2 separate regions of the Homo sapiens genome follow, and region 2 is linked to region 1. Evidence: promoter capture Hi-C in 16 types of primary human blood cells and fetal thymus (Javierre and others, 2016). All regions are on one chromosome and are shown on one strand. Each heading gives the region's core, a stretch centred on a gene start or on the middle of the fragment in contact. The rest is flanking DNA. Distances are from core to core; before and after follow the strand shown.

Region 1 (3,280 bases), core at 555-3,054:
ATGCAACATTGATTTGTAAAGTCTCCAGGACAGTTCCTGCAAAATGGAGGCATTGAGGATGCTTGGGGCCAGGCGCGGTGGTTCACACCTGTAATCCCAGTACTTTGGGAGGCCTAGGCAGGTGGATCACCTGAGGTCAGGAGTTTGAGACCAGCCTGGCCAACATGGTAAAACCCCATCTCTACTAAAAATACAAAAATCAGCCAGGTGTGGTGGCGGGTGCCTGTAATCCCAGCTACTCGGGAGGCTGAGGCAGGAGAATCGCTTGAACCCGAAAGGCAGAGGTTGCAGTGAGCCAAGATCATGCCACTGCACTCCAGCCTGGGAGACAGAGTGAGACTTGGTCTCAAAAAGAAAGGATCCTTGGGTAGTGTGAGAAAACTACCCAAGGGATGTCAAAATGCTTTGTGAGGCTGGGTGAGGTGGCTCACACCTATAATCCTAGCACTTTGGGAGGCCGAGGCAGGCAGATTGCCTGAGCTCAGGAGTTCGAGACCAGCCTGGGCAACATGGCAAAACCCCGTCTCTGTTAAAAATACAAAAATGAGCCAGGTGTGGCAGCGGGTGCCTGTAATCCCAGTTACTAGGGAGGCTGAGGCAGGAGAATCCCTTCAACTCAGGAGAGAGAGGTTGCAGTGAGTACAGATCACGCCTTTGCACTCCAGCCTGGGTGAGAGAGCGAGACTCCGTCAATAAATAAATAAATAAATAAATAAAAACGCTTTGAGAGAAAAAGAGGGTGTGGCCTGTAACTCATTCTGTGAAGCTGTACCCTCACCTTGATACCCAAACCAGTCAAAGACACAAGAAGAAAGGGGTTTGGGGCCAGGCTTACTCATTAACATGGTCTCAAAGATCCTAAATAAGTCTTAGCAAACAGAAACCAGCGACAAACAAAAAAGAAAACATCGAATTCAATACAATAAATATTTGAGAGCCCACAAAGTGTTAGGTGCTGTTCAGGGCATGGGAGCACTGCGGTAAATAAAACGGATGAGAATCCTGGCTGTGATGAAACTTAAAATGGGGAGGAGGTGAAAGAAAACCAGAAAACGAAGGCAGATGTCATGTGTTTCACAGGTGCAGAGTACAAGTCGAGCACTTGAGAAAGAATTTCTCAGGGAAACATTAAATCACCCTCCATCTCTACTGAACATCCTGAACAACAACAGCGCCGCAGCAGCAAGGACTTGCCTTCCTTCTTAGGGTCATCCATGTTCACGTCCCCTGCCCGGCAGGCTGAAGGCTCATCGCGGCCGCCGCCTCCTTCCATGGAGAGAGCTGTCAGAAGTCACTGCAGGGTGGAACGGGGCCAGAAAGTGAGTACGTGTCAGGGCCCAGGGCTCCGGCTTCCTTCAGCCCTCGGCTCACAGAGGCAGAGAGAGCTGAAGGCCGCGGCCAGGTCTGGGAGAGGCGGCGCGGGGGCCGCTCTGAAATGATCGCATCCCAGGGGACCCCAGGGCCCGAGTGCCGCCAGGCCGGGAGTCAGCCCGAACGCCATCAGACGAGATAACGGAATTCTCGGCTTCTGGGCCAGAGTGTTGGGGGCTCTGTTTGCCTGGGGGGCAGCCCTAGACCTCCCGGCATCCCCGACCACGGCGCGAGGGGCCTCAGTGACCCCTGCTCGAGCCCAGGCCCGGCTCCTGGCGGGGCGCGGCCCCTCCCCGTCCCGAAAACGGCGGGCACCGCGCCGCACCGGGCCCACCGGGCAAGCCTCGCCCCCGACCCTGACCCCACCTTACCCAAAGCGGCAGACGATGCAGGACGCGCCTCCGGCACGGATTTAAACGCGGCGCCGGGAGACGCGGGTTGCCGATTGGTCGGTTTGAAAAGGGCTCCGAGAGGCGGCGGGCTGGGTGCGTCCTGGGTATTGTAGTCAGGACGCTGGTAAGAAGCGTCCAGTGCGCATGCGCACTGCTTCAGCGCAGCGAATGGCTCCGCACAGCGCCAGGGATCACCCACCCGGAAGTCTGCCCGGCCTGGCCGCCAAGTGTCACTAGGTATCCGCGTCAAGCCGGAACCATGTATAGCAGCTCCTTGTGTGTAGGGAGAAAGTTAAAACTGCCATCTAAGGGTGTCGATGGGAAGACTAAAAGTAGGCTCACCCACCTGCTGTGAAGCAGCGCGCGCGAGCTGTTACTAACAGTAGTGAAAAGCCGGGATCCCTGCCCCCGAGGCACGCACTGGGGCGCCGGCTGACCCAGAGACCTGAGGGAGACTCATTGCCGGAGCTGCACAGCCTGTGGGGCTGGAGGGGAACCGTCGCCCTTGGCGGGCTTCCCCAACCGCCAAGGCCTGAGGACCGCCGAGGGCGTGGCGGGAGCCTGTCCTCGGTTTTACAGGCCGGCTGGGGAGCTGCGTTGGAGGAGAGAGCCAGGGGCTGGGGCCCGGTGATGGAGCCTGCCTTGGGGAGTGCATGTGTTGGAGAGAGGTGGGAAGCAGATAGGATAACCCTGACCTGAGCCATGGAGACGCAAGGACAGGACTGGTAGACGGGTCAGTGGGCAGCAACTTAAGACTGACCTCGCTTGAGCCTTTGCCTGCGAACGAGGTATAATACCCACCTCGGGGGCTTGAGGATCAAATGAGGGGCTCCACCCACGGCAAAGTGTCACTAAGCGGGATGGAGGAGGATGCAGGAAGAGGAGTCTGGGAGGACCCGCTCTGAAAAGGATGGAACTCGAGAGCACCATTTTCAGGGACGAAGATAAGCTGTTTATTTGGGGCAGGCTGTGGGGAGAGCTGTGCAGCAAACAGCCACCCGGGGCCCAGGGCAGAGGCCTTCCAGGCTGGCTCGGGCACTTCTGGGTCCCATGTCCCTGGTTTTGCATCATCCATACCAATCACTCCATGTTGCTATGTTCCTTCACCAGAAGACTGGGGGCTCAAAAAGGGCAGGGCAGCCCTCACTCACCAGTCTCCCCAGCCTCACCCAGCTCAGCACAGGGCACCAGGCAGGGGCTGAGAGTGCTGGGGTAGGTGGGTGTGGTCAAACAGCTTGGAAAGAGTTTGGCCTGCTCATTGCATTCCCCTCAGCTCATCCTGGGGATGTCTGCTCATGGGAGAATGGCAGAGGGATCCCCAACAGTCATTCCTGATACTCCTCTCCCTGTATCATGTCAGCACATAGTAGGTGTGGCCTATGTATGGCAGATTCATTTCTGCCCCCAATAGGATTTGCTGTAGTTTGGATGTGTGTCCCCTCAAAATCTCATGTTGAAATGTGATCCCAATGTTGGAAGTGGGGCCTGGTGGGAAGTAATTGGGTCGTGAGGGCAGA
Region 2 (3,280 bases), core at 229-2,728, 630 kb after region 1:
TTTCTTCAATGTTCCCTCTGCTTTGTACATACATACCCCCACAGCTGTGTTATCTTGTACATACTAGTACAGGAGAGAGCAAGGACTTTCCATTTTCCTACCCCATCACCTAGCACAATAGCTGATACATGGGTAACTACCAATCAATGTGTTAAGTGATAATATCAGCTACATTTAGTGCTATGTACAGGTATGTCCTAAGGATTTAATATGCATTATATCTCATTTACTCCTTATGACACTATCACCAGGGAGGTACTGTTCAACTTTACTCCCATTAAATAGACAAGAAAACTGAGGCCCAGAGGACAGAACAAGATCAAACAAGCATTGACTGAGGGCTTCGCACATTTTATATTTTCACGTACTTTATTTCATTTATTCCTCTGTACAATCCAGCAACTAAGCTGTGTATTATAGTCCCATTTTTAGACAAGAATTCTAAGGCCTGGAGAAACTGCACAGTAACACGCAGCTTGCAAGGCCAGGAACCAAATCCACAACTGTCGACTCCTGGGCACCTTCTCTTTTTGCCTGGCTATCTTGCCCCTCAGTGGCATCAGGACTGGACTGGTCTCTCCAGGCCCGTGCTCTTCCACACTGCACAGAGCGCTGCCCCCAGGGCAGATGGTGCAGCCTGGGCTCTAACGCCGAGGAGAAAGGAGTGCCAGTCCCACTCCATGCCTAGAGACTGCCATCCCCGCAACTGCCCAATTCCCGCGTCCGTAACACGGGTCTCTCCCGCTAAAACACACGCTTTATGACTCTGGGGGCCGCGTGGGTCTTGCAGCCAGGGCCTGGCGCAGCCCTCGCACATGACAGGGGAGGCCTAACCGTGTGTTGGGTCAACATCACCGGCACGCCGCGGCAAGGGCTCCCGGGATCGCGGCTTCGCACCCGGACTGGCTGCGGTGGGGGAGCGGGGCGCCCGCCCCAGGCCCCGCGGGGACCCACGAGCACGAGGCGGTGCCTGGGAGTCGGGAGGCCTGGGTGGCGCTCAGGCAGCCCGCGCAGGCCTCGCCCTCCGCGTCTCCAGCGAGGCGGGGGCGGCGCCTGGGTCCAGGCCGGGGCCGCCGCGGGAGTCCCGGCCGCCCTCCCCTGCCCGGGGCAGCCCCCCGGCCGGACCCGTTACCGGTTCCGCTGCTCTTTGAAGAGCGCCGTGAGCGCGCGCAGGGCCTCCAGGTCTTGGATGGGCGCCGGCACCATGACGCCCGACAGCCTGGCAGGCGGCGGCCTGGGCGCCGCCATCTTGCCGCTCACAGCTGGGTCGAGCCTGACGAGGAGGAGGAAGGCGAGGAGGACGAAGGGGGAGGATGACGAGGAGGGAGGAGTAGGATGGCGAGGAGGAAGGGGGAGGCCTCGCCCTACACAGCCCTAACCGCCGCCGCCGCTGCAGCCCGCGCTGCCCTGAAGCTGCGCCGCCGCCGGAGAGCTCTAGGCTGAGCCCAGACTCGCCTCAGGCGGGAGGAGGAGACGGCGCCGCGGGGGAGGGGGCGCCGGCGGAAGTCCCGCCTGAGGGGAGGGGGCGCGGCGGAAGTTCTGGGTGAGAGCGGGGAGGGATGCTGGGGGTGATTGACTGGGAAGCGTCGCAGACGGGGCTCCTCCGAGGGGAGGGGACGCCGGGGGGAGGGGGACCTGTGTTGATGTGGCCGTAACAGGGTCTCGGTCTTGGGAGCGGGTATCGGGAACCAGAGGTTCACCCTGAGAAAGAGGGGCGCGTCCTATAGGAGGGTGCCCGCGGACAGAGGGGTCTCCCCCAGGGGAGGGGATCCGGGGGGTAAGGGGCCTGTGGAGGGTGGGGCCGTAACAAGGTCTCGGTCTTGGGAGCGGGTATCGGGGACAGAGGTTCACCTTGAGGAAGAGGGGCCCTCCTGTGGGAGGGGGCCCGCAGACAGAGTGGTCTCCCCCAGGGGAGGACATTCTGGGTGGAGGGGACCCTCTTGGGAGGAGACGCTGACTGAGGGTCTCGGGAACGAAGGGGGCCGGGCAGAGGCTCCCACTGCTAAGGCTGAAGACCTTGATCCCACTGCTCAAGTGGGTTGATCAGTGCCCCCGCCCGGGTCCACTGGAAGCTGGAGCGGTCTGTCACTAGCTTGCAAGTCTCAGGCCCTGAAAACGCACTTCCCAGTACTTACTGATCATTGCTGATCAATACCAGACCACTTACCAGGCACTTTGCCTCTAGTGAGTATACATTGCTCCAGCTCCTCAAAGCCTTAAAATACCGTTCGAAGTCAAGAAGCTAAGTTACACAGCAATAGGGTTAGAATTGTTTTTTTTCCTAAGGGAAATGAATATATTTCACAGGAATCAGACAAGGCTTCTCTAGCTGGTGTTGATAACTCACATATTTTCTTTCCACTGCCCTTTATTACAGTGTATATACTTTCAACAAAAATTGTTGCTAAGCCCTGCGCTAGGTGCTGGAGATGTAAAGATTAATAAAAGACAGTTCCAAACCTGAAGGAACCTCACAGACTATTGAGAAGGAGAGAAGCAAACATAACTGAGTATAGTTGTGAACTGCTATAACTGTACAAATTGCTGTGGGACCACTTAAAATATATAAATACATACCCTTTACATTCTGCTTGGAGGGTAGGAGTGTGCTTATAACATGGCGCTTTTAACATTCTTTGCTAAATAAAATGTAAAGATAACAATAAACACCACCAGAGTATGCAGAAAAAGTGAATCCTGGTGGGGCATGGTGGCTCATGCCTGTAATCCCAGCACTTTGGGTGGCCAAGGCAGGAGGATTACTTGAGCCCAGGAGGTCGAGGCTGCAGTGAGCTGTGATCACACCACTGCACTCCAGCCTGGGTGGCAGAATGATACCCTGTATCAAAAAAAAAAAAAAAAAAAAAAAAAAAGGAGGGAGGGAAATGAATGCTGCTGCACAAGCAAGTTACTTGATATTGTCATTCAGTTTACCCATTTAATTGAGTATGTATTTATTCATTCCACGAATATTGCGGTGTACTATGTGCCAGGTATTAGATCACTTATTAGTAGCAGTGCTCAAGACAATGCAAAATGTTTAACACTCCTTAAGCTAACAGGGCAAAAATCTCTTAATTTTCCCTTGAGGAGCACAGGATAGTAAAATGTACTTGTTATGCACCAAAATCCTGATCTTTAGGCCAGACACGGTGGCTCATGCCTGTAATCCCAGCACTTTGGGAGGCCGAGGCGGGCAGATCACTTGAGGTCAGGAGTTCAAGATCAGTCTGGCCAACATGGCAAAACCCCCTTTCTACTAAAAATTAGCCAGGCATGG

The links. The method cuts DNA at HindIII sites, captures the fragments that hold promoters and counts their contacts. A CHiCAGO score of 5 or more calls a contact.
Region 2: a contact is called between the fragment with the promoter of ATXN10 here and the fragment with the promoter of GTSE1 in region 1, in 2 of 17 cell types (total CD4 T cells and fetal thymus). The highest score is 6.5, in total CD4 T cells.

What each region holds. Positions count from the first base shown.
Region 1 is chr22:46,295,394-46,298,673 of GRCh38, reverse strand. It overlaps GTSE1 (G2 and S-phase expressed 1), which reads right to left and starts at 1,804. Exons shown (of 12, transcript NM_016426.7): 1 at 1,743-1,804; 2 at 1,195-1,294. The coding sequence starts at 1,273. It overlaps GTSE1-DT (GTSE1 divergent transcript), which reads left to right and starts at 2,014. Exons shown (of 1, transcript NR_024009.1): 1 at 2,014-3,280. RefSeq lists an enhancer at 1,287-1,396 and a silencer at 1,547-1,746. The HindIII fragment of the contact is 11,600 bases long and covers 1-3,280 here.
Region 2 is chr22:45,670,032-45,673,311 of GRCh38, reverse strand. ATXN10 (ataxin 10) reads right to left here and starts at 1,478. Exons shown (of 12, transcript NM_013236.4): 1 at 1,133-1,478. The coding sequence starts at 1,248. RefSeq lists silencers at 846-1,175, 1,506-1,555, 1,616-1,805. The HindIII fragment of the contact is 13,202 bases long and covers 1-3,280 here.